Regions from separate parts of the Homo sapiens genome. Here all the other regions are linked to region 1. The links are contacts of gene promoters, found by promoter capture Hi-C in blood cells and fetal thymus (Javierre and others, 2016). All regions are on one chromosome and are shown on one strand. The core of a region is centred on a gene start or on the middle of the fragment in contact, and the rest is flanking DNA. Distances in the headings are between cores, read along the strand shown. Region 1 holds the start of SELENOT (selenoprotein T). Region 2 holds the start of RNF13 (ring finger protein 13). Region 3 holds the start of P2RY14 (purinergic receptor P2Y14). Region 4 overlaps RNF13 (ring finger protein 13). Region 5 overlaps MED12L (mediator complex subunit 12L). Region 6 overlaps MED12L (mediator complex subunit 12L). Region 7 overlaps MED12L (mediator complex subunit 12L).

Region 1 (4,134 bases), core at 1,130-3,629:
TCCTTCTCATCTGGTCACTCCCACCTACTCCCCCACTGAAACTTCCGCCTATCAATCTCTTCCCACACAAGGCAAATGGTTCTTGGACCAAGGAAAATATCTCCTTCCAGCCTCACAGGCCCATTCTATTCTGTCGTCATTTCATAACCACTTCCATGTAGGTTACAAGCTGCTAACCCGTCTCTTAGAACCTCTCATTTCCTTTCCATCGTGGAAATCTATCCTCAAGGAAATCACTTCTCAATGTTCCATCTGCTATTCTACTACCCTGCAGGGATTGTTCAGGCCCCCTCCCTTCCCTACACATCAAGCTCGGGGATTTGCCCCGCCGAGGACTGGCAAATTGACTTTACTCACATGCTTCAAGTCAGGAAACTAAAATACCTCTTGGTTTGGGTAGACATTTCACTGGGTGGGTAGAGGCCTTTCCCACAGGGTCTAAGAAGGCCACCGCGGTCATTTCTTCCCTTCTGTCAGACATAATTCCTCAGTTTGGCCTTCCCACCTCCTCTCTTTCCTTGAAAATCACTGAAGCCTCGACTTACTCACTGCTGAAAAAGGAGGACTTTGTATATTTTTAAATGAAGAGTGTTGTTTTTACCTAAATCAATCTGGCCTGGTATATGACAACATAAAAAAACTTAAGGATAGAGATAGAGCCCAAAAACTCTCCAACCAAGCAGACAACAACGTTGAACCCCCTTGGACACTCTCTAATTGGATGTCCTGGGTACTCCCAATTCTTAGTCCTTTAATACCTATTTTTCTCCTTCTTTTATTCGGACCTTGTGTCTTTCATTTAGTTTCTCAATTCATACAAAACTGCATCCAGGCCATCTCCAATAATTCTATACGACAAATGCTCCTTCTAACAACCCCACAATATCACCCCTTACCCCCAAATCTTTCTTCAGTTGAATCTCTCCCACTGTGGGTTCCCACGCCGCCCCTAATCTCGCTCGAAGCAGCCCTGAGAAACATCGCCTATTATCTCTCCATACCACCCCCAAAAATTTTCGCTGCCCCAACACTTTACCACTATTTTGTTTTATTTTTCTTATTAATATAAGAAGACAGGAATGTCAGGCCTCTGAGCCTAAGCTAAGCCATCATATCCCCAGTGACCTGCACATATACATCCAGATGGCCTGAAGCAACTGAAGATCCACAGAAGTGAAAATAGCCTTAACTGATAACATTCCACCATTGTGATTTGTTTCTGCCCCACCCTAACTGATCAATGTACTTTGTTGATCAGTAATCTCCCCCACCCTTAAGAAGGTTCTTTGTAATTCTCCCCACCCTTGAGAATGTACTTTGTGAGATCCAACCCCTGCCCCCAAAATATTGCTCTTAACTCCACCGCCTATCCCAAAACCTATAAGAACCAATGATAATCCCACCACCCTTTGCTGACTCCCTTTTCGGACTCGGCCCGCTTGCACCCAGGTGAAATAAACAGCTGTGTTGCTCACACAAAGCCTGTTTGGTAGTCTCTTCACACGGACATGTGAAACACTGTGGTCAATTTTTTTTCTTTTTAATAATAATTCTTTTTTAGAAATATGTGCTTAAATAATTGTAAGCCAGGCATAGTTGCCTGTGCCTGTATTCCTAACCACTTGGGAAGCTGAGGCAGGACTGCTTGAGCCCAGGGGTGTGAGGCTGCAGTAAGCTATGATCACGCCACTGAACTCCAGCCTGGGTGACAGTGAGACCGTGTTTAAAAATATATATATACAGATGAAATGATATGATGTCTGAGATTTGCTTCCAAATATGCCTAGGAAGGGAAGAAGTGTTTAGAGATATAGACAAATCAAGATTGTCAAAATGTATAGTAACTGTTAAAGCTTGCTAAGGTAGTTATTCTATTTTTGGATATGTTTGGAATTGTCCAAAGGTTTCCTAAAACTTATGTTTAATATTCTTTCAGGAGAAAGCAATATTGTAAGATCAAAGAAAAGGCCATAACAGCGCACCCAAAAAATTTCAGCATTACCATTCTGAGGGTCAGGAGTCTCCTCCCTTCCATCCGCCAACACTTGAATCAGGACTATAAAGTAGGTGTTTCCAAGTCTCAGGCAGGTAAATGGATAAATTGCAAAACTGGATGCAGAACTCACATCTGCCTCATACATAGGCCCTGTGACACCCCACCAGCTCCTTTGCTCCCTTTCTGCCTTTCTCATGCCGTCCCAGAGTCTTGCACACTACCAAGATGGTGGTGAGTCAGGACAGTGAAACAGGTCGGCTCTTCACTCCAGGAGTGTGCGCGGGCGCCGGGCCGCGCAGGCGCATTACTGCTCCCCTCCCCCGACCTTGGCTGATCGCGCCTGCGCAGTGGGGAGCAGCTCGCTCCTGGGCTTTGGGCTGGCTGCAGTCTGTCTGAGGGCGGCCGAAGTGGCTGGCTCATTTAAGATGAGGCTTCTGCTGCTTCTCCTAGTGGCGGCGTCTGCGATGGTCCGGAGCGAGGCCTCGGCCAATCTGGGCGGCGTGCCCAGCAAGAGATTAAAGATGCAGTACGCCACGGGGCCGCTGCTCAAGTTCCAGATTTGGTGAGTATGTGCACTGGGCCCCGGCCACCCCGCCGCGCCTCTGCTCGGCGCCATTGGCTACGCGAGGCCCCGGCTTCGCGGCCTAAATGGCCGCATCTTCGCTGGCCTCGTAGAACTGTGCCGGCGCCCTTCCACAGCCAGCCTTCTCGCGGCCCCTTAGCGCGGTCAGGCCGCCCTCCTTTTCCAGGTATAACTGCTCACTTGTTTTTTGCCTCCTAGAACAGTGGGAATGGGGAAGGAGGGCGCGAGAAGGTTAAACGCTGAAAGGCGAAGACTGGGGGACACCTGTTAGTACGGAGGACTGGTTGGCGGCGTCACGCCATAGCCACCCCGGCTGCCTGCGGAGATGGGGATGAGTAGGCGCCGCGTCGGCGGAGGAGCGCCAACCGTTTGTCAGTTCACTTTTTCTGCCCTCTTTTCCGGGGTAATGCCGGGCGGCTTCGCTGCCTGGCTAGATGAAGGTTAATTCGGGTCATTGGAGAGGATCCGGGAGTGACAGACGCCGTTTTTCTCCTGAACTTGCTGGGGGGACTGTTGAGTTTGCGAATGGGGCGTCTGACAGCTGGAGGGGGTGGAAGGAAGGTCTGGGGATGCTGGTTCTGTTTGCCATTTCCAAAGTGTCAGAAAAGGAGCACGTTGTTCTTCTAAACATTGACAGTTCGCTCGCATTCCCTCCTCACCTGCCTCCCAGGAGTTGCCTGCTCTGGCATCTCTTTCTACCTTTCAGTTGTCTTGTGTATCCAGCAGATCTCGGCAGTTTTCGACAGTGTTCTTTAAATGATTTTGTTTTTAACCTAATCGTTAGAAGCAGGGCAATGATGCATTTTATACGGTAAGTGGGGTTGCGGGTGGGGATTGAAAGGCTCTGAAGATGGGGGAAAAAACACCAAAATTGTAAAATTATAGAAATGAGAATCTTACACCTCCAAAGATGACATTTTCTCAGGATAAACCGACCATCCCAGAATAGCCAGATTAGTAAATCATCAGAGTCCGGATACATTGGAATGTTGGTGTTGGACATCATTCATTTAAAACCTTCTTTTAAGAACTTCATGTATTAGTATATTAAAGTTTTGATTTTCTACTTCTCCAACTAGCTTTTTACTTACTCACTGAAGACCAAGCAAACCTTTAAAATAATTTTTAAAAATCGGCTTAAGGTGATGTTTGAGTTAGAAAATAAGATGGTGAGACTTTATTTTTTTGAGTGAAAACTAAAACATTGCAATTTCTCCTGATTAAAAACAAACAAGGCCGGGCTCGCTGGCTCACGCCTGTAATCCCAGCACTTTGGAGGCCGAGGCTAGCGGATCACCTGAGGTCGGGAGTTCGAGACCAGCCTGACCAACATGGAGAAACCCCCATCTCTACTAAAAATACAAAAATTAGCCTGGCGTGGTGGCGCATGCCTGTAATCCCAACTACTTGGGAGGCTGAGGCAGGAGAATCGCTTGAACCCGGGAAGCGGAGGTTGCGGTGAGCCGAGAACGCGCCATTGCACTCCAGCCTGGGCAACAAGAGCGAAACTCCGTCTCAAAAAAAAAAAAAAAAACCTCCCTGTACAATGTACTAT
Region 2 (4,134 bases), core at 834-3,333, 790 kb before region 1:
AAAAAAAATAAAAAAATTAGCCAGGCCTGGTGGCACATGCCTGTAATCCTAGCTACTCCAGAGGTTGAGGTGGGAGGATTACTTGAGCCCAGGAGTTCTGGACTGCAGTGAGACATGATCTCACCACTGCACTCCAGCCTGGGCAACAGAGTGAGACCTTGTCTCTAAAATAAATAAAAATAAAACAACAAAACCCAAAGCTCCTCTCTGTGGACTTAATTTTTTTTTTTTTTTTTGGAGATGGAATCTTGCTCTGTTGCCTATGCCCGAGTGCAGTGGTGGGATCTCAGCTCACTGTAACCTCTGCCTCCCATGTTCAAGCGATTCTCCTGCCTCAGCTTCCCAAGTAGCTGGGATTACAGGTGTGCACCACAATGCCCGGCTAATTTTGTATTTTTAGTAGAGACGAGGTTTCACCATGTTGGCCAGTGTGGTCTTGAACTCCTGACCTCAAGTGATCCGCCTGACTTGGCCTCCCAAAGTGCTGGGATTACAGGCATGAGCCACCGCACCCGGCCTAAAAAAATTTATTTTGATGTTATGCAAGAAATCTGATTTAATATACCAATTTGGGATAATTTAATGAAAAAAATGCTTATAGAGATATTATAAATGTGTTTATACTAATTAGTCTTCTTAGTAATATTCCCAATGCTGACTTTTATTTATGACTTTCTTAAAGGCAGAATTGTGATTTAAGTATTGAATGTCTTTGCAACCAATGAAAAGTTAAGACTACATAGAATACTCATAGGATACACAGAAGAGGAAAGTACCTTTGATAGCTTTTATTTAATTTTTTAAAATTTGATCTTAAATTTCTTGTATTTGAATTTTATTTGAGTAGGTAATATTTGCAAGGTTCAAAATTCAAAAGGCACAAAAGGATACACAATAAGGAAAGAGTCTTTTCCCCATTGCTGTGTCCCACCTACTCAGGGCTCTCCAAGCAATCAAAGTGACAAGTTACATCCAATGGTATTCTACTAATACTCTGTGTGATAGCCTCCTCGCCACCATTTTTAAAAGATGATGTTGAAGGAGTTGAAGCCTGTAAAGGCCTTATTAAGGGTGCCTTATTATTTGAAGCAGAAGTAGTGCCTGATTCTATGTCTCCTGACATTTCTTTCAGGACTCTGTAATATTTGCCTAAGTCACACTGCTTTTGTAAGGTGGCGAGTTGGCAATGATTAATCAATGTGGATGGTACAATCCGGTAATTTAAGTTTCGACTGGTTTAAGATTGAGACAACCAGAAAGGAAGGCTTATCAGAAGGGCGGCAGGGGAGGAGATTTTTGGTTCATCAAAAGGAGGCAAGGGTTTTAAAAGGCTGACCTAGGGCCTGAATCACATGGTTTGACTTTTGCTAAGCCCCGGGGATGGCGCGTGTCAGGCCCAGAGTGCTGATGCCAGCGTGGATCCGAGCCAGGCCTCAGGGGACTGGCGTTCAGACCTCGGGCCGCTCGCATCTCTAACAATTTGAGCCCTACTTTAAGGTGTGGCCACGGTCCCCACCCACTCTGATCTCAGACTGGGCACGGTACGGAAGGCGGGCGGATGAGGCCTCGCCCTCGCCTCTTTAGTAGGTCGGGTGAGTGTAGTGTGCAGGGAAGAGACGCGTCAGCGCCAGGGCCAGGCCCGCCCGGGGGCAGCCCGGCAGCCGAATCTTGGGCTACTCTGTCCCAACAGCCGGAGCAGATCAGACCGACCGGCCCTGCCCGCTCGGTCCCGCGCCCTCCAGACCCTACGGTCTCCGTTTCTAGGGGCACATGGTTAGCGGCAGGCGCCCACAGCCAATCCACTTTGCCAGCCTGCCCCTTCCTCTGCCAAGAGCAGCTTCTTCAGCCGCGCTCCAGTTCCGCAGACGCCTGCCCCACCCTGCTCTTCCCTTCCAGGGAAGACGGATCACGCGGCCAAGAACGAGACTCGCAAACTGGGCATTTCTCCGAGCCGGGCTAGAGCAAGTAGCGAGACTCCGCGTGAGAGTGGGAAAGAGCCTTAACAGGCAACCATGTTGCCCAGTGGGTTTTCTGTGCCTTTGGGTGCGGACCAATGAGGCGCGTGGGGCGGGACTTCCGCTTCGCCTAGGTGTTGTCGTCCCTGCTAGTACTCCGGGCTGTGGGGGTCGGTGCGGATATTCAGTCATGAAATCAGGGTAGGGACTTCTCCCGCAGCGACGCGGCTGGCAAGACTGTTTGTGTTGCGGGGGCCGGACTTCAAGGTAAGACCCTGTCCGGCTTCGCGGCAGCCGGGCAGCTCGTTATCGAGCGGCCCAGAGAACATACCCCGCTTGTTGGCCCTCGAGCTCGGAGTCGGCCCTGCTGCTGAGGTCTTTGCTGCTCCTCTAGAGCTGGGTGAGAAGTCAATTAGGCTTTTTGCAAAAGGAATAAAATAGCCTTGCCCTCGGGGGACCGAGTCTCCCCTGCACTCTCATTCCGCGAGTTTGTGTGTGTCCAAAGTTGAGTTACCGGTTTTGCTTCTCTCATTCCCTTCTTGAGGCTGCAAGAGCCTGCCTGGAAAACATGTTTGGAAGGCTTTTCTTGGTCAAGTACCTGCCGCAACGTCCTCGGGCACATCGCTTGACTTTAGTTGAGGGGGCTGTTTTGTCTCTGAATAGAAGGAGGGCAGTCACTTCCTCTCTTTTACCCCCACCCCCTTTTTCTTTCCCTGGAAGCTCAGATTGCAGGTTTGGGACTTAACCCCTGCTAGGGCCAGATACTACGGTCAGTCAGCAGCTCTGCCTGTATGCTTGACTTGACTTGACTTGCACTTATTAAATAACTTTGTCCCAGAGAGAAAGAGAGAGTGGGCAGACATCGAAGCCAAACAGCAGTATCCCGGAAGCACTCATGCAACTTTGGTGGCGGCCACTCAGTTTTCTCTGCCAGTGTCTGGTAAATTCCTCTATTTTGTCCTAATCTGACAATAGTAAATAGTAAATTTCCAAAACTGTCGTTTCATCATCAGTTTCAGCACCGTGGGCAGCTGCTCGGGTCCTCTCTTGTTGCCCCAAACCTGCCCGGCTATTACTGTTCGTCAGTGATGCAGCAGAAACAGTGAAAACTGATGCATTCCTTTCAACAATGATGTGTTTGTTCTCCAAGGAGAACATCTGCAGTTTTTGATACAATATAAATAAGTAAGGTGGCTGTGCCTCCAAAGAGTTCTTCTGGAGAAACAGATCAATTCAAGATTTAAGGTAGGGCTTTCAAGAGTTTATGCTATTTAAGCACAGTTTTTTAATGGGTGGACATTAGCTCCATCTCGAAGTAACAAAACTGGACAGTGATAGCAATTAAAAAGAACTTTAAACAGGAGGTAAGAAGTGTAGTGCAGTGCTGTAGTGCAGGAAGTGTAGTGCAGTGCTGTAGTGCAGGGCCCATAAGGATTCATTAATAGATTTTAGAATCAATTTAGTACATTGACATAAGCTTTATAAAGAAAGAAAAAATACCAGAGGACATTGTATGGAATAAAAGTAAATATTATGGCAAGAAGCTTTTGTTTCAGTTTTTAACAGTATGTGTGTGTCAAGAGGAAGATGGAAATGTAAAGTGTATTATGGATTATGGCAAAAACAAATGTTTCAAAATACTAAATTCCAAATTTGGGAGTCAAGCTGGGTTCAGCTCTGCCATTTACTAATTCTGTGACATTTTCCGTAAATAAGAAATGAGTTGTTATGAGGATTAAATGAAACAAAATTTGTCTATTACATAATTTTTTTTTGTTTTGTTGGAAACTGTTGGAGAGAGGCACAGTTATTTTTCTCTATGTAGGGAATGAGAACTGTTTTATTAGTTTTTTTTTTTTTAACCTCTGCCTTTGTTTGAAGCTAGGCAGCTTGACATCTTGTCTCTATGTGTAATGCAAATCATAGACAGAATCTTGGTTTGAGAGGTATAATACTGAAGGGTTTGGGATAAGTTCTCATCTATGCTTGTATAAAGCTAATTTTCTCAATAATTTTGGAGGGGCATAAATTGTTGCTAGCATTCAGCTTTCTTCCCTTGATATTTTTCTGCATTCCAGAATAACGTAGATTTATCAGAACTTTTACAGGCACTAACTTTAGCTAAGTGAGGGTAGGCCTGAGGGTATGACTAAAGGGATAGATTTATGTCTTTGAGTTA
Region 3 (4,134 bases), core at 1,072-3,571, 680 kb after region 1:
TTAACTTAATGGCTAGGTTTTTTTTTAGTGCTAAAACTGATTATCAAGTTTGTATGTTTTAGAAAGATGAATATACAAACTATTTATTTTTTTACTAGTGTGATCTTTGATTCATTTTCTCCGTAGGATTGATTGTCCTTGGTTAACAAAGTATATGTAGACAAGATGGATTGCATGGGCTTGGTTGAATAAGCTGACATTGTGGGTCTGTGCTAATTCTCCTGAATGTAATTTAATTTATAATGTTTAAAGAATTGTAAGTAATTTAGCTGATTAGTCATAGACTATAAATAAGTAGCATATGAACTCAAATATTTGCTATGCCTAGGACAGATATTTCTGTGATTTACAATTTAAAGGCATTTTATTTTAGTAGGTGTTAATGGGGTTAACTTATCCTAATAATGACAAAGATAAAAACTTTTACCTATATAAGTGTATGTACAAGTAAATGCAACTATATATCTGTACACATATGCAATTGCAAACAAAGACATACTGACCTAAGTATTATGCTAATCGATTTTGTAGTTTTGAGAAGCAATTTTAATACACATTTACGAGCTTTTGAAATGTTTGTCCTGGATGAATACCTTTTAAACATTTTCCTTGATATCTCTTCATCACAGATATATTTTGACAGCCACGATTGGAAATCCTAAATCATAAATGATAATATTTCAGTATTGGATCCCCATATTAGCATGGGGAAATATATTAATATACCAATTATAGTTGTCAAACAAAAAGTAACCTACTGAGAAAAATGTGAGTGGCAATGGTTCAGTGTTCCTCAGCTTTGTTGCTGCCCAGCTCAGAAATCTTTTCTGTTCCCATGCACCATTCACATACATGCAAGTCATTTCATGGAAAAGCTGTTTTCTTACCTGCGTCTAGGCCTTCATCTGTGAGAGTCATGCTTCACTCATTTTGAAATACCTCTCATTGTAGGCTCCAAGGTAACACTGTTACAGAGTTCTTGCTCATCTTCAACTACGGATGAAAATCAGGAACTTGACAGAAACCACAAGATAGTGGGTCCCTCTGCTGCTGTTGTCAGATAGAATTTATTGAAGACTGGGACGTGGAAACAAAGAGGAAGGAAGAGACGTTTTAATCTCTGTGGGTGTTAGGCTGACTTCTGAGCTAGTTCCTTTCCTCCAGTAATGCAAAAACAGTCCTGCTTTCTTATTTCTCCTCCTACTTTTCCCCACATCCCTACATCATCTGATGCACAGCCAGGCAAAAACCTGTTTTCTTTTCTAACCTTTGCCATTGTCAAATTCAACATGTGGTATGAGGTGGAGAACTGATGTGTAAGATATGGTTCTTTCTGAAGCACCCTCAGAAAATTGTCAGCAGCTTCACAGTATAACGTGCAGAGATGGGTAGTTGGAGCTACCTGGAAATGCGGAATTAACAGAATAAAGAAGTATTTTGACACCAATGTCGACATATTCTAGATAAGAGGTGTTGCATTGTCATTTTTCCCACATTAATTTTCCCATATTTGAACATTACTGATAAATAGATCACAAGTAGGACTTCAGATAAACTCCTCGTGTGTTAACATTTTGGTGTTTGTGCTGTGTTACTATTTTGAAAGTCTTCATATTTTTAGTTCCTTTCAGGCTCTGTAATATAATTGGTGATGTCCTGCAGTGCTCCACTGTCTTTCCCATTGACTATTAGTGCCATTAGATTTGGAAGTTTTCAGAAGATGGCTACAAAGTCCTCTTCAAAGTGTATAACTCAGAACCAGAAAGAAAGAAGACAAGGGGCTGAAAAGCTTACTTTATAAGGTTCCTGCATTTTAAGTGTATTTACTTAGGCTGTTCCATTGCCAAATTATGGGTAACAACTAGTAAAGTTCAGCTTGCCTTAAAAACATAGCTATACATTTAGTTATAATAATTATAACTGGCTTATGACATGCCCGTTACTATTCTAGTTGCTTTATATGTACTTGCTACGTAGGAGGCAGTGTTCTGGACATTGGAGATGGAGTAGTGACTGACACATACCCAAACAGTTATTTCCCTCATGAAGAGTATTTTCTTACTTTCTGTCTCACAGACTTGCTAGTCACTGTTGATCCTTGGCAAAGACCTGTGAGACACAGAGCTTGTTTAGAGAAGTTCGCCATTTCTCCCTGCCAGAGGGACTCTTCTTCAGACCCCCAGCGGGCCCCAATAGTCCTCACTGATGCTTTGATTGAGGGGCTAAGAATACTGATGTGCATAGAGAGGCTTGTTAGCTTCAGCTGCAGTGAGATCTGGTAGGTAAATAAACTTAAGGACAAGTGGATGTGAGGAGGAGCCGCTAGAGCCTGGTTATTACCAGGGCACATTGCAGAGTCCTCCAGATGTAAACATTTTGCTGATTAAATTGATGATTTGGCAGGAACCGTATCTCTAAGGTGCGACTCTCAAGACTTCCCTGATTTATTGCAGGAGATGCTGTTTACTCTGACAGTCTCAAAAACACCCATTAATTGTTCCGGGTCCCTTTTGTGCTTCTTGACTTCCCCGTGGGGTGTTTCACATAGATGTTATTGAGTATGACTGGGGAGAACATGATAATTTGTTGCTTCTTGACTTCCCCGTGGGGTGTTTCACATAGATGTTATTGAGTATGACTGGGGAGAACATGATAATTTCTTTGACTGGAGCTGCTTGCTTGCCTCTTAATGCCAGGAGTTGCAAAGTCCAAGGCCAAAAGGATAGCCCTACAGGTGGTCCCCTCGTGGCAGGTGGTACAAATGGGTTGGACTCTGTGTAAGACACTTGGGAGTAGAGGGAGTATGGAGAAATGGAAAGCTAAAGGGCCCACCCAGGGGGACAGTTGTGTCTGGAAGCTTGCCAGAGTCATGGGCCTCATCTTGGGATGGGCCAGTGTCTTCAGAACATTAAACGCTGATTTGCATGTACTGTTCTAAACACTCTGTGTGTTTTAGCTTGATTACTCACAATGGCTCCATGAGTAAAGTAGGTCTGTCTACTACTTCTTCCCCACCTTTTTCTTAATAGACAAGGAAACTGAGGCATGGAGATGTTACATCAGGTTGCTGGAGCTGGGCAGATCCTGGAGCCTGTGCACTGCTACTGCCTTTATATGTCTCCTCTGATTTCATTTGTTGGTGTCTAAATCGAATACCTTACAAACCAGTGTAGACCTGATACCCTGTGGGCTAAAACAAAACCTGAGTGTGCACTGTATTGGGCTTGTGAGCAGTCAGCTTGTGACCTCTGTTCTGTGGTTTTATTGGCACGTAGCAGTACAAGGATGGTGAGGGGTGGGTAGGGGGCAGACAGCTAGGCACTTGAAAGGAAAGCTCATCTGGAAAGATTGGATCGTCTCAAATGCACATACTCGTACACTCGATTGAAGCGTACTCTGTGCCTACTAGATCTTTTCACAGCCAAAACACCTGGCAACCCTTGGAGAAGTAACTATTCCTTTTTTTCACAAGTAAGAAAATAGAGCCTCAGAAAATTTAACAGTTGTCTAAGCTAGAAAGTAGCAGGACTGGACTTTGAAGTAGTCTTTAGGTTGTGCTGTACATTTTGTGGATATGCTTAAATCACAGTTTAGCTTGTACACATTTTCCTTTATTAGAATTGGAAGTAAGTATTAATGTTTGAAAAAATATTTTAGCCTGACAATATTTATTCTATCTTCATATGTTTTTGAAATTAGATATTTTAAACTAGGCACGGTGGCTCACGCATGTAATCTCAGCAGTTTGGGAGGCCGAGGCAGGCAGGTCACAAGGTCAGGAGCTCCAGACCAGCCTGACCGACATGGTGAAACCCTATCTCTACCAAAAATACAAAAAAAAAAAAAAAAAAAAAAAAAAAGTTAGCTGGGCATGGTGGAGTTCGCCTGTGATCCCAGCTGCTCAGGAGGCTGAGGCAGGAGAATCACTCGAACCCGGGAGGTGGAAGTTGCAGTGAGCTGAGATTGCGCCACTGTACTTCAGCCTGGGCAACAGAGTGAGACTCTGTCTCAAAATAAATAAATAAAAAATAAAAAGATATTTTATTATGACTTTTAGCAACGTAGGTAATGACTCTTTTCAACACTAGACACCAGGCATAATACAACATAGCCAATAACGACATTATAATTAAA
Region 4 (4,134 bases), core at 1,109-3,608, 640 kb before region 1:
AGGCCGGGCATGGTGGCTCACGCCTGTAATCCCAGCACTTTGGGAGGCCGAGGCAGGCAGATCATGAGGTCAGGAGATCGAGACCATCCTGGCTTACACAGTGAAACCCCGTCTCTACTAAAAATACAAAAAATTAGCTGGGTGTGGTGGCGGGCGCCTGTAGTCCCCAGCTACTAGGGAGGCTGAGGCAGGACAATGGCGTGAACCCAGGAGGCAGAGGTTACAGTGAGCTGAGATTGTGCCACTGCACTCCAGCCTGGGTGACAGAGCAAGACTCCATCTCAAAAAAAAATAAAAATAAAAATAAAAAATAAACTTTCTTCCCGTCCCTACATGATACATACAGAACACTGAATAAATATGGCAAGAGATTAAATATAAAAGTATCAACCGCAGCATACTAACTAAAGATGTATATTTTGCTTCAACAGCTTATCACTGCAAGTGTGTAGACCCTTGGCTAACTAAAACCAAAAAAACCTGTCCAGTGTGCAAGCAAAAAGTTGTTCCTTCTCAAGGCGATTCAGACTCTGACACAGACAGTAGTCAAGAAGAAAATGAAGTGACAGAACATACCCCTTTACTGAGACCTTTAGCTTCTGTCAGTGCCCAGTCATTTGGGGCTTTATCGGAATCCCGCTCACATCAGAACATGACAGAATCTTCAGACTATGAGGAAGACGACAATGAAGATACTGACAGTAGTGATGCAGAAAATGAAATTAATGAACATGATGTCGTGGTCCAGTTGCAGCCTAATGGTGAACGGGATTACAACATAGCAAATACTGTTTGACTTTCAGAAGATGATTGGTTTATTTCCCTTTAAAATGATTAGGTATATACTGTAATTTGATTTTTTGCTCCCTTCAAAGATTTCTGTAGAAATAACTTATTTTTTAGTATTCTACAGTTTAATCAAATTACTGAAACAGGACTTTTGATCTGGTATTTATCTGCCAAGAATATACTTCATTCACTAATAATAGACTGGTGCTGTAACTCAAGCATCAATTCAGCTCTTCTTTTGGAATGAAAGTATAGCCAAAACATAAAAAAAAAAAAATCCTCAGTATAGCTTGCAATTAAGACCTAGATCACAGTATTTAAGTGTTTTGCGTTTTATACATGAGGTCAGTGCTACAGCCACCTAGCATGAACTAACCCAGCTTCCACCTCCATAAAGTTACCTAGAGTTGTTGAGTTGGAATATGTTCTGGCATTTACCTGACCTGCCAATCATTAGGGAGAGGCAACAAGGTAATTCAGCCTTTCCTCCTATCAGCACAAAGAAACTCAAAGCTGTTTTTTCCCTTTCTGTTCCAAAGCAGTCTTATCCTGACAGGAGCGGTCTATACTAGTGCAGATTTCAACACTTTTTTTTAACGTTTTAATTACTATAGTGTTATGTAGAGATTTGATTGAGCAGCTAATGTTTCTGAACTTTACTTACTAATTTTCAGTGTCCTTAAGGGTTCTGTAGTGTTATCAAAGCAAAAAGAAAATGCTGCATAAAAATACCAAACTTCAGCAACTGTTAATACTCAGATCATATACCTCTTAATAAATAGCATCTTATGCTAATTAGCCCTGCTAAACTATGTACAGAGGAAACTGTTCAAGTATTGGATTTGAAAGTAAGTGACTTATGTTTAACAGAACTAATGATGTATTGAAACACTGTATTATGAAAAGCTAAATTATACATCATTGTAACTATGTAGAAAGTGTAGACTAATGTATAATCAAAATGCTAAGGATTTTTATATGGCCTTGTATGAGGGGAGTTTGAATGTTAATAAACATGTTTTCCACTTTAAGATCCAGTAAATGTCTGTTCTACTGTAGTATTACTTACCATATTAGCCTTATTTATATATATCCTATAAAGTGATAATGATTGAGGTCAGAGAAATCACATCACCTTAGGACTTTATACAAGGTAACTGACCATTCACATGCAGTTAGGTAATATCCCAAAAAGTTTAGACTGCTGCCAAAATTATTCCAAAAATAAACAGTGTACATTTTGGTACCCTGTTGTAAATTATGGTATATCGAGGGAAAATTTCACTTTCCAAATTGCCTTTTAAAAAATAATGTTCATAATCAGGAAAAAAATAAATAGGTATTTCTACTTTGGAAAATAAACGGTTGAATTCAACATCAGCTATCTGATACCTCATCCCTCTTCCCCTTTTTTATAAAAAATTAAAGAACCACAGGCCTGAGAAACAGGACATCAAAGGTTACCACGGTAGTTAAGCAGAGTTTGGAATTTGACATAATTGTATGGCCCTAACCTTTTTAAACCTGCTTGGTCATTTGCATAATTTTCATTTAACCTAAGAGGGTGTGAGGAGAAAACATTGAGCTCAGTATCTGGCACATCAATGCGCAATAAGTAATAGCCTTCAAAATAATTATTATTAAATAAAAACAAACCTAAAACAATATTTTAAAATAGGAAAAGGGAAAAAAGTAAAAAGTCACGGTAATGGTTAAGTATGTATTAGATGTTATATTCCCTCAGTCTTTAATCCAAAGTTTAGAATAAGGACCTGGTCCCTTTATGTTAGGAGTTTTATGGAAAAAAAAATTTTTTTTTGAAATTCCAAATAATTACTAACTAACTGTAAAAAAAAATCTACGAAGTGTCTTATTTAGCAGCACTGGCTAGGGCTGTTACTAGGTTCTGTGAATGTTCACTTGAAATGTTCTATAATTTCATGGTATAGCTTTTCAAACAGGACAGTAGGTGCAATTAAAATCCAATTTCTATTTAAAAAACATTTAAAACTTTCTTGATTACAAAAGTAATATTAACACTAGAAATCAAAATATAGTCACCTGGAAACTTTCACTCCAGAGATAAATTTATCTTAATATATTGCCTTCAGAAATACATATGTAAAATACATGTATATTAATACTGTATGTATGTGCACTGTCATGTGACATGTTTATATCCTTATATTATTAACATTCATTGGTAAACATTCTTATGTCATTCTTCAATGACTATTTTGTCCTATGGACTTAAAATCATTTATTCAAACCATACCCCTTAAAAAGCTGAACTTTGTAGATATTTTCCAAGTTTGGATGTCATAAGTAATGCAGCATGATGGACATTCTGGTATACAAATTTGTATAGCTTCATTTCCATATGCTAAATTCCTAGAACTAAGTACAAAGCAAAGTACGCATGTATGTATTTCCCTAAGTATTTTTCTAATGAAATTGTGGGTAGAAAGCCAATGAATAGTTTCATTATATACTATTTTAGTGATACACTCACCCTTTACCACCTTCTCTACCCACAACCTCCTCTCTGAACACACACATACACACTGCCCCTTCACCTACTTACAGATTAATTAAGAGTTTCAGAATTTTGGTCACTGCCTTCTATAATTGGTTACCCTAATAGTTCTTTACATGTAAAGTGTGAATGTGTATTATTGTAAAATCTCAAATCATCACAACTCAACCACCAAATTTTCATTTGCCCCGTCTTTTGGCCTTAACAGGTCAAGAAACTGATACCAGGTTTTTATTATAGTTTTACAATTTCTAGGTTATGTCCAACTACCAAAATAGCCCCAAATCCTTTATCTCCCATATTTGTACATCCCTGTGTATGTACAACCATATTCACAACCAGTGCCTGACAACTAGTCAAAGAAAAAAAAACTTTCATTATGCATAGTATATTTTAAGACAGGTTAATTCCTATTCCCTAACCCATTTTTTCTCAAAAGGTAGCATATACACCACTTAAAATGAATCAGACTGACTCAGTGATTGTTTCTGAAAAGGGATTCCTGGGCTTATGGACTCTCCATCTCCAGAGTGGAACCCCAGAGTCCATAGTCTGCCTTATAACCAGCTCCCCAGTTTTACTGAGACCTACTAACTTTTGAGCACCCCTGGCTCTAAGCGTCCGCTTGACAGTTGTTGGTAATAATGATTTATGTAAATAGCCCTAAATTTACATATTTATCAAACTTCAATATATATCAGGGATTTTATGGCCTCTGGATTTAAACCTATTACACAGCCATGGTCAACATGTCACTACAAAGCCAAAAAATGCAAAAGCATCCCAATTATCTTATATGCTGCCTAAGG
Region 5 (4,134 bases), core at 845-3,344, 610 kb after region 1:
AGTGCCATGAAATACATCAATAAGGGGTTTCTTAAGTGATTGTCTGGGTGTCAGCTTTTCCTGCTTCTTCAAATCAGGAAAAAAACCTGACTTTTTATTGCAAACAGCTCTCTAGCCCTTCATCAAACTGTGCCTGCTTTCAAGTTAGTCTTTAAGGACAGTGTTGAAAACAATTACATACTAGATTCTGGTATTTAGAGAAAGAAGATGCCTGAGTGAGTTGTCTTTGATTATGTTGTGTTTTATTTACTATTTAAATTTCTACATTAACTGACCAGACTAGTGGTTATAAACTTTAACTTATTTTAATATAATAGAATTGAATAATTGTATGTATTAATTTTTTATTAATAGAGAATAGAAAGGTCAGTATTAGAGAAATTACTGATGGGTATGTTTTCTTTGATGTTACAAAAAAGCATGGAAACTTATATTTGAATTTTATTGAACTAAATTGGATGGCAGTGCTAGAGATGATATTTATGATGAGGGCACATATCTTATTGATTTCTGTTATGTAATTGAAGATGACAACATGCACACGTGGTCTTTCTTTGGAAGAGGGTAGGAACTCACAAAGTATCTGTGCTTTCAAGTGTTGTATTTCCTCTTTTGATTCTGGAAATGTCTAGGTCATTCTGAGCTTTTAATGGAATGTGCAATTTCTTACATAAGATTTCCCTAAACGGCTGGCATAGAAAGAAATAAATAATAGGGTCCAAGCATACATTTGCAGCAGATAGTAGCAGAGTGAATTCTTTCATATACCGCAAGATTTCTTTTGACTGGCAGCTGTAATGAGCTTCGGTCTGACTCTTTGTGTAGGGGATTCTGGCAATATGGTAAGGTACAAAACAGACAAAAAACACAAACACGATGCTGAATATGTTGCGGCTAGATTTCTTTTTGACCGAAGTGGAATTCCGACTTGACTTAAGGTGGGACTTAAAGATTTTCTTTGTGATAGCAGTATAGAAAACGATTAACAAAAGAAACACAATCCAGAAGATGGCCACGAAGATGTAGTTTGATGCTTTGTGCCACTTCCGTCCCAGTTCACTTTTCAGTTCTATACATTTTATTTGTGTAACCTCCCTAACACTCTGGTTGGTGAGAATAATATTTGGAACAGCAAGGAGGAGCATGAGCATCCATACTATCACTGACAGAAGTTTGCTGTAACTCACTGACTGGATGAAAGAAGTCCAAAGAGGCTTTACAATTTTATAATATCTGTCAAAGCTGATGAGCCCAAAGAACACAATGCTGACGTACATGTTGACGTAGAAGAGCACGGCAGAGACCCTGCACACAAACACGTTCAGCTGCCAGGGACCAAGGCCTGAGTCACCAAGGATCTTGAAAGGAAAAGTCAGGCTCATCACAAAGTCAGCAATAACAATGTTCTTGAGATAGATGATGAAACTCTTAGAGCTGGGCACGTAAAAGAATATCCATCCTGACACTCCATTGAGTAGGATTCCTGCAATGAAGACCATACAGTACAGCACAGGAATGATCTGCTGAGTGATCAGGAGGTTCTGAGAGCAGGATTCATCTGGAGGCTGTGTGGAGGTTGAATTGATCATCTTGTAACTTCTGAAGGCAGAGGCCTGAAAAGAGGTGTGAACTGGTCACTCATAGGGCACTTATGGCCTCCAAGACATTTGCTGAGTAATAAGGCAAAGGGCAATGAATATAGTCAAACCTACCAAATTTTTGAAGCCACCTTTTTACTCTGTGTAAGTTAGACACTCATCCCTCCCTCCCTCTGTTCTTCCTTTTCTTTCTTTTGGTCTTCCTTTTCTCCTTTCCCTCCCTCTTTCCCCCTTTACCCACCAACCCCCACTCCTTTCTTCCTTCTCCCCTCTCCCCCTCCCTTTTCCCTCCTCTTCCTTCTTCCTTTTTTTTGGGCAATGAAAAGGGAAGAATGGAGCAGACAGGTGGCAGTAAAGAGAAACTGGAGCAGCAGGGCAGTCTCTGAGAACTTCTAGGTAATACGGAGACCAGCATGCCCCTAAAATAATAATGGTTCCCTATAAAACTCCAGAGTTCTAGGAAATACTCATTTAGGTATAATCTTAAAAGGTAGTAACTGTAAAAGCAGAATTAATGTTTTATTTTATTCAGAATCCCATGTGTAATGTATTTTTTTAAAACCTATGTTGGAAATGTGATTGTTTTTTCCTAAAAGAGAAATTTTTATGGATTCATAAAAATCATTATAAATGTTTACATATTAAGAGCTATTCAGACGGACCTTACTTTTAGAAAAGTGTATTCTACATATATGTTGGACATGAAGACAGTGTCTAACAAACATATACATTCAAATGTTAACCGGTATTTTTGGTATGGGATTATGGGTACCTTTTCAATATTGAGCTTTTTTTTTTTCCCATTGAAAAACTGATTTGCATTATTTTAATAAATTAGAATACAAATACAAACAAATGATAAAAAGTACTTTAAGCATTCTGAGAAATGCTTCCCAAAGTACATTCTACATCTGTACTATTCAGTATGGTAGCCACTAGCCATGTGTGGGTATTGAGCACTTGAAATATGGCCAGTCCAGATTGAGATGTTCTGTTAAGTATAAAATGCACACTAGACTTTGCAGACTTGGAATGAAAAAATGTAAAATATCTCAGTATTTTTAATACTGATCACATGTTGAAGTAATATTCTACAAATGCTCTATTAAATAAAATATATTATTACTCTTAAATTTAACTTAATTTTACTTTTTAAGACTCTGGCTACTAGGAAATTTTAAATTACATATGTGTTTCACATTATGGTTTTATTGCACAGTGCTGTGCTAGGTGTTATCCAGAACTTCTATTGTTTAGGAATCCTGTATATTCTTCACTGATGTCGGAAGTGTTGATTTAGGGCAGAGGGAAGACTAGAATTAAATTCAAAAGGTTATTTGATATATCGGAACAGATGTTTACTGCCCATCTTATATGTGAACAGTACCAATTATCCTGCTTAAAACCCTTTAGTAGTCTGTCCTTGCCCTCAGGAGAATGCCCTAAGTCTGTAATGTTGAAGTCCTTTCTTGTTCTGCCTCCTGCTTCCTCCACCCCCAGCACTGAGTTCCTGCTGTCCTGGGCCCATCTGCCTCCTTTTAGGTTCTGTGATTTCTCTCAGCCTGGACCTTTGCACAGACTTTCATTTGTGTGGAAAACTGTTTCCATACCTTCTTGGCTGGCTAACTTCTCTTTATCCTCAAGGCCTCAGCTTAGCTGTCACTTTCCTTAGGAAACCTCAACTTTCCTAGCCTGGTTTGGGGTGGGTTGAGTGTGTGCTTATCATCCTGTGTCTTTCTCCTATCAACACTCCTCTCTCCAGCTGTTTGTCTCTTCCACTACTACAAGCTCCTTCAGAGGAGAAAGATCATGTCATTTTTTTACTCTTGAATTCTTTGCATAATATTTAGGGCATTAGATAGTTAAAATATTTGTGAAATAAATGAATATGCACTCTGGGAATACAAGGCATGAATCCTTGCTCTTAAGATTTATTCAGGGATCAAGGGAAAGAAAGATTGTGGGAACAGTGGGTACCTTGATGTCAGAGAATGCATCTTTTTCATCTGTATTTGTGGTGCCAGCACAGTGCATATCACAGTGAATGACAAGTTAGGTTGATACATTTAAGCATGACAAAGGGATATTTTGAAATATGGAATATGAAATACAGTCACATTCCACATAAAAAATAGTACATCCATGTAAACTTGTGTGCTGCTTCCTACACAAGAATATCTTGTTTCTGCGTATTTTCCTTTCCCATATGCTTTCCTTTTGCTTTATGGCAAAACTAGAAATATTGATAGACTTGATTTTGCCAGTCTATGGACTTCCTATAGAAGGAATGAGTACCCCAAATCACTTCCTCCACAAAACCTTTCACTAGCACTATTCTTCCTCTTCCCTGTAGCCTTGTGTGCTTGGCTCTGGGCATGATGGGTTTGTACTCATTTGCTTCTTTGTAGGTCTTCTATCGCCTTTCTCCTTATGAGCCTGTTTCATATTTTAAAAGATAAGGGAGGGGGAGCACATTTTCCATTTTTAGCTGTCTACTGTGACTAAGAGTCTGTGGCTGGTAACTAATTTGTCTGGT
Region 6 (4,134 bases), core at 495-2,994, 590 kb after region 1:
AGAGTAGCCTTATATTTTAGAGATGTATCCTGAAGAATTTATAGATGAGCTATCATGATGTCTGGGATTTGTTTTTAAAATATTCTGGGTAAAAAAGGGAGACAATATTAACGTCCGGAGTTTATTTAATAGTAATATACCAATGTTAACTTCTTAGTTTCACCAAATGTACTGTGGTTCTCTTAAGTCATTTACATTAGAGAAAACTGGCTGAATGGCATATGGAACTCTCTGTACTATTTTGCAACTTCTCTGTAAATCGGAAATTACTCTAATAAAAAGTTTATTTAAAAGAAAGAATTAAGGGGGGTGATAAATTAAGCAAAGATGGCAAAATGTTGAAAGTGTTTGAAACTGGTTGAATGGTTGAGGGTTATGTGTTCCTTTCTTGGGTAAACAGAGCTTTGCATGTCTCTCTCCCAGGTGTCTGGGTGTCAGAGCTGGACACTAAGCCTCAGCTTCTTTATTCTGTTGTTCCTGTGACCTTGGTTTTACAGCCTTTCCCTGCATTTAACATTCTACTTCCTTGGAAGAAAGAGCTTAAATGATTTTCAGTGACCACATGTCATAATGAATCATGAGATAATTTAACTATAACAATTCATGAAAGAACTGCTAGACAATTGATATTGTAGGATACATTTTTTAATAGCCTTCCACCACTGGTTGCCCTAAACTCCCTGTTACCATGAGTTCAATTCAGAAGAAGCCAAAGGATATGCTAATATAACACTGACTTTAGGAATGCTACTGTCTGTTTTTTTTCCCTTAATAAAAAGAGAAAATCTGACTAGCTTCTCATTGCATGTGAGGAGACTATAAAAATATGGTTAAGAAAAGTGTTTTCCATGTCCCCATCTGTCATATGGGGCCCTACTAAATGAAGACCAAAGAGAAGAGGACTAAAGGGGGCTTGACCAAAGATTCAGAAAAACAGTTTCATGATGCTATTCTGTGAATAATACTTGATCTGCCCATTAGTGAACCATGTTTCCTAGACTACCAGCAAACACAGGTTCTAGTGGATAGGCATTCTACAGCCTGCAACTGAGGTAAGTCATTTACACTGTGTCAGATGTGTGAGGCTGCTGGAGTTTCTGTCATTACCATTAGCTAGCTAGAATTGTATAGCATTATCTTGTTGTATGTTTTGTAATAGGCACTTCATGCATTTTCTCATTTATTATTCACTGCAGAGTCAGAATATTTTTATGGAATTGTAGATAGGATTTTCAAGCTTTAGAAAATAATTTGTGAAATGCAAAAATGAGTTTGGAATCAAACTTGTTTTCCTAGCTTTCAGGAACACCATTTCTTAATCATTGCAGCTAATGCAAATGGATTTACCAGCGGTTTTTATATGGGCTTATTTTACTAATGAAATAAAAAACACAAAGTCATCATGTATGCTTATCTAAATTTTTCCAATATTCTTTTTCCTAATAAGTCTTTTATTTAATGCTGTGTATTCTTTCTGCATCACCAGCAGTGGAGAGAATTTGATCAGAGTTGTGACTCTGAGAGCTGGAGTCAGCTTATACTTTATTGTTATTTATTTATTTACTTATTTATTTGAGACAGAGTCTCGCTCTTTTTGCCCAGGCCGGAGTGCAGTGGCGCAGTCTCAGCTCACTGCAACCTCTGCCTCCCAGGTTCAAATGATTCTCCTGCCTCAGCCTCCTAAGTCGCTGAGATTACAGGCGTGCACTATCACAGCAGGCTAAATTTTGTATTTTTAGTACAGAGGGGGTTTCATCATGTGGGCCAGGCTAATCTCTAACCCTTGACCTGAGATCTGCCCACCTCAGCCTCCCAAAGTGTGTGAGCCACCACGCCCGGCTGGAGTCACCTATACTTTAAACTGGGGCCCTACGTGGAGTCAGGCTCATCTTTCTGGACCTGGGTGGCACTGAGTAGCTCGGCCTGTGCTACATTCCTAACACGGCCTTGCTATGCGAAGTCAGTGTATCTGTTTTATAAAGACCATCTGACTGGTGCTGTTTTACCATTGATGTGCTATCGATGTGATTTTCTAGTTCCAAAACACTAGTTTCAGTAGTTAGTATAACTTAACAACTCCCTCTGAAATGTTACAGGGCCTCTGTGTTTCATGTTACTTCAAAATAGAAATGAGAAGTCACTAAATGTATTATTACTAACATCAGGAAGCCTTTATTATAACCTACAGGTAGAATATAATTACAAATAATACATTAAAGATTGTCTATATTTTTCAAGCCTTTTTATAAATAAAAGCTTTTGGTTATTGTGTTAGAAAAAAATTCGACATTAAAAATTGGAGGAATAATGAGTTGAAAGATTACCATCTTTTGAAGTGATAGATTAGAAATAAAATAGGCACAAGTTGTTATATGTAAGCTGCATTTTTTAAAAGTAATCTGAAAGGCTTTAAAATTATGTTGCTGGTGGGCTTTCTGGTAACTTACATGGAAATTATTTTTTATATTTTTATCAAGAAGTCAGTTCCAGGCATTTAAATGAATAACTCATGAATACCTTTGGGTCTATGTCATGGACCTCTTTTGGATTTCAAGGATATTGCAGGATTTTACATTCGTTCAATGAGACTCTTTAGTTTTTTGTACAAATATTTGGGTTAATGAGTAGCAGCAAGCCTAACAATAAAGCTTGACTTGCATTTAGAAACAGGATTTCTAAGTAAACCTGTCCATATTTGCTAGCTAACTGTATTTTTTCATACTGAGTTTTTTTTTGTTTTTTTTTTTTTTATCTTTCAAAGCTATAATTAACTTTATGGTCCAGTAAGGCCAGAATTGGTAGCACAAAAAATCCTGTCTTTTATGCATTATTTTCACATCTTAATTTTTCTTTCTGAGCCTTGGTCTCTTTAGGTGAGGCAAAAGTCTCAGTGACCTTTGAGCGGAATGCTTTTGAGAGGTGATAGTACAGGATAGGATCAAAGCACAGGTTCGACACAGCCAGGAGCAGTGTAGCCTCTTTGGCTTTGAAGAGTGAAATCCTGGTTGAGCAATCAGTTATGACTTCTGTCTGGCTGAGGGTATACGGGATTCGGACAATGTGGTAAGGAACAAAGCATATGATGTAGCCCGTGGTCACTAAAAGTATGTTGATGAGAGCCTTTTTCACATTTGGGTAATTTTCATTATCTTTGTTTCTGTAGAGCTGTCGAATTACAAGGCAATTGGATATTAAAATGATGGCTGAGAAATTTAAAAATATTGCTACACATATGAAATTTGTCAGCAAATGCCAATTTCTTCCAAATTCCTTTTTAAACTCCATACAACCCACATTTGACTTTTCCTTGATGTCTTTGATGGGAATCATCATATTTGGCACCATTATAAGAAGGACCATTAGCCACACAACGGTTGATATCATTTTGGCAAATCCGGGTTCTTGTATTCGGTAGATCTTGCAGCTGTGTGTCAGCTGAAGACAGCGGTCAATGCTGACAAATGCTAAGAAGATAATTGATAAATACATATTGATATAGATGAGGCAGGCTGTTACTTGGCAGTGGAATATCTTCAGCTTCCAAGGTGCCACACCCAAGTCAACAACAATTTTCACTGGTAATGCCAGAGTAAGCAGGAAATCGGCTGTAAGCAAATTAATTAAGTAGATGCTCACACACCTGTGATTCGTATTCTTCTGTATAAAAGCCCAGGTTGCAAAACAACTTCCAATAATTCCAACAAGGAAAACTAAATAAAAAAAATACGTGAATGGCTCCAGATCTTTATAAACTGGGCAGAAGAACGAACTGTTTGTCATCTTGAGGGAAAGTAAGGATGACTGCTTATTGAAAAGAAAAAATTTCTAAGACTCTGTAAAAGAAACAAGGAAAGGGAGGTTAGTAATTAAAATTAGCAACTATTTTCTTTAAAAGACATTGGTCTTCACAATACCGTTGTCTTTCCAGTTCTTAGAATTTTATTGGTGAACTTACCAGACCATATGGCCTGGTGAGAACATACTAGATTGTGAAGATGCCTGGGTTTTCCATTGTCTGATTTTGTGACTTTCAGGAAATCCCATGCAGGTTTGCTTTTGGTAGGGATATTTTCAACCTCAGGTTTTTCCATTCTGGTAGTTCTTGTTACCAGTTGGGTTGGAAGTTAGTTTGCA
Region 7 (4,134 bases), core at 768-3,267, 570 kb after region 1:
CTGGACTAAATTAATTTTTAAAATATGTCGTTGGTATCTGTATGTATGGTATATGCATCAAGGTATATATGTATATGTAATCAAGTTTTATCTCTCTATTTACTCCTTAACAGGGGTTACTGTTTTCTTTTTCTTTGTTTTTTTTTTTTTTTGTTTTTTTTTTTTTGAGACGGAGTCTCTGTCTGTCTCCCAGGCTGGAGTGCAGTGGCGTGATCTTGGCTCACTGCAACCTCCACTTCCTGGGTTCAAGCAATTCTCCTGCCTCAGCCTTCCAAGTAGCTGGAATTACAGGTGCCCTGCCGTCACGCCCGGTTAATATTTTTATATTTTTAGTATAGATTGGGTTTCACCATGTTGGCCAGGCTGGTCTCTAATTCTTGGCCTCAAGTGATCCACCCGCCTTGGCCTCCTAAAGTGCTGGGATTACAGGCATGAGCCACCGTGCCCAGCCCTGTTTTCTTGACTGCAGAGTCACTTTGCGTATTTCTGGAATTCATGCATGTGCTGCAGCATCATGTTAACTGATCAGCTGGTGATCTTGAGTAAGTTACTCAAGGCTTTGTGCAATAGTGCCCTTCCTGGTTAAGTAGGCATAGAGTACTTGCCCTTTTTTTCTCTAAGGAAACATGAACACTTTGAGAATTATAAGGCACTATACAAATATGTTTTAAAAATTGTTAACAATAATAATATAGCAATTATTAGTATTATACTGGAAGAACTAATGTGATGATGCTGTTCTCTGATAAGGAGTTACGTGTGGTTAGGATTCAGAAATTGGTCTCACTTCTTTAAAATATACTTCCCCTTTTTTGTTTTCATAATTCATTCAGGATTTAGATAGCACGATAGATAAAACATGATCAACTTCTGTAGTTGCAATAGGTTGGAGGTTTGCTGTTACTAGAAGTCGTGTCTAGGTAGGCCTAGGCCCCAGGTTGCATAGCCTGCTTCTTCACATCTGTTGGGAAAACCTGAATTTCACCCTCCTTGATTCCTTAATTCCCTTTTCTCTGGAACTGCGACAGGGAAATGCAGTCCTCTCTACTTCCTTGTAGGGAGGGGAGAACTTCTGTCTAAATGGGAGAAGTTTGTGTGTGTAATCAGTTTCAGTATTGGTGAAAGCCTGTTGAAAACTGCAGTGCATGGGATGAAGGCATCCGAGGCCTGGGCCCTGCCTTGTGGTTGGACTGTGGTCATGAGAGTGGGAGTAGGAGCTGATTCTGTGCCCACATTGGGGTGTGCCAGGCTATGTGGTGTGCCTTCACTGATTCCACATGGAATGCACTATTTCTTTTTTTCTTTTTCTTTTTTTTTTTTTTTTGAGATGGAGTCTTGCTCTGTCACCTAGGCTGGAGTGCAGTGGCGTGATCTTGGCTCACTGTAACCTCTGCCTCCTGAGTTCAAGCCATTCTCTGCCTCAGCCTCCCGAGTAGCTGGGATTAATAGGCGCCTGCCACCATGCCCGGCTAATTTTTCTATTTTTAGTAGAGATGGGGTTTCACCATGTTGGCCAGGCTGTTCTTGAACTCTTGACCTCGTGATCCACCCACCTCAGCCTCCCAAAGTGCTAGAATTACAGGCGTGAGCCACTGCACCTGGCCTGGAATGTGCTAATTCTTTACTCTCCCTCCCTGTTGCCCTTTACCGCCCCATTTCCTTGGCCACTGTTTCTGTGTCTGGGCTTTTGGGTATAATGGCAAGGGAGGTGAAAATAAAAATCTCAAAAACCTGAGTGTTTCCTTATTCTAGATCTGTGCTGCTTAGTTTTCCATTCAGAGTAGTGTGAGATATAAAGATGGTAATACTGAGGTCAGGGCTCATGTCCCACAGTGGCCAGGCAGGTAGTGGGAATGAGTCGGGGGATGCTATGTATAAGGCAGCCTGGAGGTGGTGGGGGTTGAGGTGTCTGGGAAGTGGGCAGACCCTGTCTGAAGAGGGAAGCCTCTCAAATTCTTAGATTCTGCTTGGGATCCACTGTTCCCTGATCATCCAACATTTCAAGAGAAGCTGGATGTCAAGATCTGCATGTAAACTTTCCTGATTTTAAAATACTGTGCAGCCAGGCAGTGTGTCTGCTGGCCATATTCACTCAGATGCTTGTCACTTTTCAATTCCTGGTACATGTCTTCTACAACATGTACTCACTTATTTGCTTGTTTAGTGTTTCAGAGCCATTTCTAGTCTGGGTGATGGAGGTGGCAAATCCTGACATCCACACAAAGGAGTCGTTATGTGGACAGTGGGACCCCTGGTTTCCACATGCTCACTGAGCCTGTCACTTGTGACCTCACCTCTGAGCAGCTGGAGGAGGAGTTGCTCTCTTTGCTTTTCAGAGGCCTCAGACCACTTCCTTCCTCTTGGCATCTCTCTGTTTGGGATGAGTGTGAGCACGGAGGCAGCTGCATCTTTAGGGTGCCTCAAGGACATGGATAGAAGGGACAGGCTAAAGGTGGCAGGAAGAGCTGCCTTTTCACTTCTCTCTTTGGGGGTCCCAGGAAGCCAGCTTTATCCTGAGTAATGAAAAGATGGAACCGGCTGCACTGGACAGAGTGTTCCTGCAGCAGCATGTGTGTTTCCTCCTTCCCTGCTGCTAAAACCACACACCCCAGACGGGGAAACTTACATATTTATTGTTTGGATTTGTTTTATGCTTAGACTATTCGTGCAGAATTCTTTGAAAGGTTGTGATGAGTTCATAGTGATGTTTTGAATGGCAAAGGCCCTAAGTTTAGAAAATGTGCTTTCCTCACCTGTGGCACAGAGTGTCCCAGGCCCAGCCAGGTTTGTATCAGTGCAGCTGGCGAACTCTGCTTCACCACCACGATCCAGAGGACAAAAGCTCGCTTTCTGTCAGTGCTGGGCTTGTTCCACATTTGTCTTCCTGCAAGCGTTTCCCTGGGGTCTATGTTTCTTCTTCTCCTCACCTTATGCACATTATCAGCCCCAAGTACCATGCATGGGGCCCAGGAGATGCTCAGTCGCATTTATTGAATTCATTTTTTAGACCTCATTAAAAAGCTACTCGGGCAGTGAACTGGAAGGGGAAGCACCCCTATAAGATTTGGCTTGGAAAGGTAGAGATGAATACAGTCATGGAATCTGTATATATCAGTCTTAGACGAATGCTTAGATTCAGATGTGGGAGAGAGTACGTGCAGGTAGAGGTAGGGGTGTGGCTGACAGGGGAGCTCTCTGCTGTGAAATCAGCAGTTTAGTGTATTTCTTTAGGGACATTGGACAATTCACGTATTTTTGATGAGTCTCAGTTTCCTCATTTTGTAAAATGGGCATGCTATTTCCTGACGATGTGAAAATGACATGAAATATTTGATTGATAAACCATTCAAATATTTATAGTTCCCAGCATGTAAATGGGTACTTAATAAACACTAGCTGCTATTATTACTGACTGATGTATATAGAGTTAGTTAAAAACTGCAGAATTGGAAGGAATATGATCAGAGACTCATAGTGGGCCCCTTGGGGCTACTGTGGGCACACACAGATACCCATCACGCAGTCTACTAATCATAAGGCACAGCCAGGATCTTTTGGGCTTTTTACATTTGCTGGTTTTCATGAAGTCTTTACTCTCTGTAGGGAGGCAGTTGGATGGCATTGATCCACTCAGGATGGGGTAGCTGCAGGACCATGTTGTAAAGGAAATCATGTTCATTTAAATGCTTAGGTTTTGTTGTTGTTTAAGGAAAAAAGTCAGTTTCTAAAACCAAGACTGCAGAAAGTCAAATAAGGCAAAAGTCAAGCAAGCAAGGAAAATGTGCATGGATGGCTTTCTGTTGAGATCCAGGTGTGCTGAATTTATGTTGTTGATGCTGATCACAGCCCAGCCAGAAGTGTATTGTGCTTCAGAAGCTAACACATTTCCTACTGGACACCCAAAGGAAGCGTTGCTAGTCTTTTACAACTAGTATTTTCTTATTTTTTGAAATAATGTGTTAGTAAAAGTTTGGTTTCTAGTAACATAGTTGGGAAAACAAAATTGTGTGTCCAGTTATTTAGACTTGCTGTCACTGAGAAGGGCCTGTCACACATTGTTTAGATTGGAGTGGGCCTCTTGATTTGTTTTTGAGTATTATGCGACTTTTTTTTTTTTTTAACTTTTTTGTGTGT

The links. Contacts are between HindIII fragments. The CHiCAGO score rates a contact against its expected background, and 5 or more counts as called.
Region 2: a contact is called between the fragment with the promoter of RNF13 here and the fragment with the promoter of SELENOT in region 1, in 11 of 17 cell types (fetal thymus, total B cells, monocytes and 8 more). The highest score is 13.4, in fetal thymus.
Region 3: a contact is called between a fragment that was not itself captured here and the fragment with the promoter of SELENOT in region 1, in 3 of 17 cell types (total B cells, naive B cells and total CD8 T cells). The highest score is 7.9, in total B cells.
Region 4: a contact is called between a fragment that was not itself captured here and the fragment with the promoter of SELENOT in region 1, in 2 of 17 cell types (total CD8 T cells and total CD4 T cells). The highest score is 6.8, in total CD8 T cells.
Region 5: a fragment that was not itself captured here is called in contact with the fragment with the promoter of SELENOT in region 1 in 3 of 17 cell types (activated CD4 T cells, total CD4 T cells and total CD8 T cells); the score reaches 11.4 in activated CD4 T cells.
Region 6: a contact is called between a fragment that was not itself captured here and the fragment with the promoter of SELENOT in region 1, in 1 of 17 cell types (total CD8 T cells). The highest score is 5.2, in total CD8 T cells.
Region 7: a fragment that was not itself captured here is called in contact with the fragment with the promoter of SELENOT in region 1 in 1 of 17 cell types (fetal thymus); the score reaches 5.7 in fetal thymus.

What each region holds. Positions count from the first base shown.
Region 1 is chr3:150,600,942-150,605,075 of GRCh38, forward strand. SELENOT (selenoprotein T) reads left to right here and starts at 2,380. Exons shown (of 6, transcript NM_016275.5): 1 at 2,380-2,558. The coding sequence starts at 2,422. It overlaps LOC124900547 (a long non-coding RNA gene), which reads right to left and starts at 2,242. Exons shown (of 2, transcript XR_007096128.1): 1 at 2,003-2,242. RefSeq lists enhancers at 2,169-2,248, 2,369-2,518, 2,491-3,264, 2,539-2,838. The HindIII fragment of the contact is 3,294 bases long and covers 1,852-4,134 here.
Region 2 is chr3:149,811,132-149,815,265 of GRCh38, forward strand. It overlaps RNF13 (ring finger protein 13), which reads left to right and starts at 2,084. Exons shown (of 10, transcript NM_183381.3): 1 at 2,084-2,222. RefSeq lists enhancers at 1,441-1,952, 1,818-1,927 and a silencer at 1,458-1,607. The HindIII fragment of the contact is 6,716 bases long and covers 1-3,430 here.
Region 3 is chr3:151,277,400-151,281,533 of GRCh38, forward strand. All of the region lies in intron 16 of MED12L (mediator complex subunit 12L), which reads left to right. It overlaps P2RY14 (purinergic receptor P2Y14), which reads right to left and starts at 1,143. Exons shown (of 3, transcript NM_014879.4): 1 at 888-1,143. The HindIII fragment of the contact is 1,068 bases long and covers 1,788-2,855 here.
Region 4 is chr3:149,960,309-149,964,442 of GRCh38, forward strand. RNF13 (ring finger protein 13) reads left to right here. Exons shown (of 10, transcript NM_183381.3): 10 at 432-1,831. The coding sequence ends at 796. Among named protein-coding and RNA genes, the nearest start is that of PFN2, 8.5 kb to the right of the region's middle. The HindIII fragment of the contact is 7,519 bases long and covers 1-4,134 here.
Region 5 is chr3:151,212,728-151,216,861 of GRCh38, forward strand. The region is part of intron 16 of MED12L (mediator complex subunit 12L); the gene reads left to right. P2RY14 (purinergic receptor P2Y14) reads right to left here. Exons shown (of 3, transcript NM_014879.4): 3 at 1-1,613. The coding sequence starts at 1,589. The coding sequence ends at 573. Among named protein-coding and RNA genes, the nearest start is that of GPR171, 12 kb to the left of the region's middle. The HindIII fragment of the contact is 6,767 bases long and covers 1-4,134 here.
Region 6 is chr3:151,195,607-151,199,740 of GRCh38, forward strand. The region is part of intron 16 of MED12L (mediator complex subunit 12L); the gene reads left to right. GPR171 (G protein-coupled receptor 171) reads right to left here. Exons shown (of 3, transcript NM_013308.4): 3 at 2,226-3,833. The coding sequence starts at 3,780. The coding sequence ends at 2,821. Among named protein-coding and RNA genes, the nearest start is that of GPR171, 5.5 kb to the right of the region's middle. The HindIII fragment of the contact is 1,019 bases long and covers 1,236-2,254 here.
Region 7 is chr3:151,168,970-151,173,103 of GRCh38, forward strand. The region is part of intron 11 of MED12L (mediator complex subunit 12L); the gene reads left to right. Among named protein-coding and RNA genes, the nearest start is that of GPR171, 32 kb to the right of the region's middle. The HindIII fragment of the contact is 5,138 bases long and covers 1-4,134 here.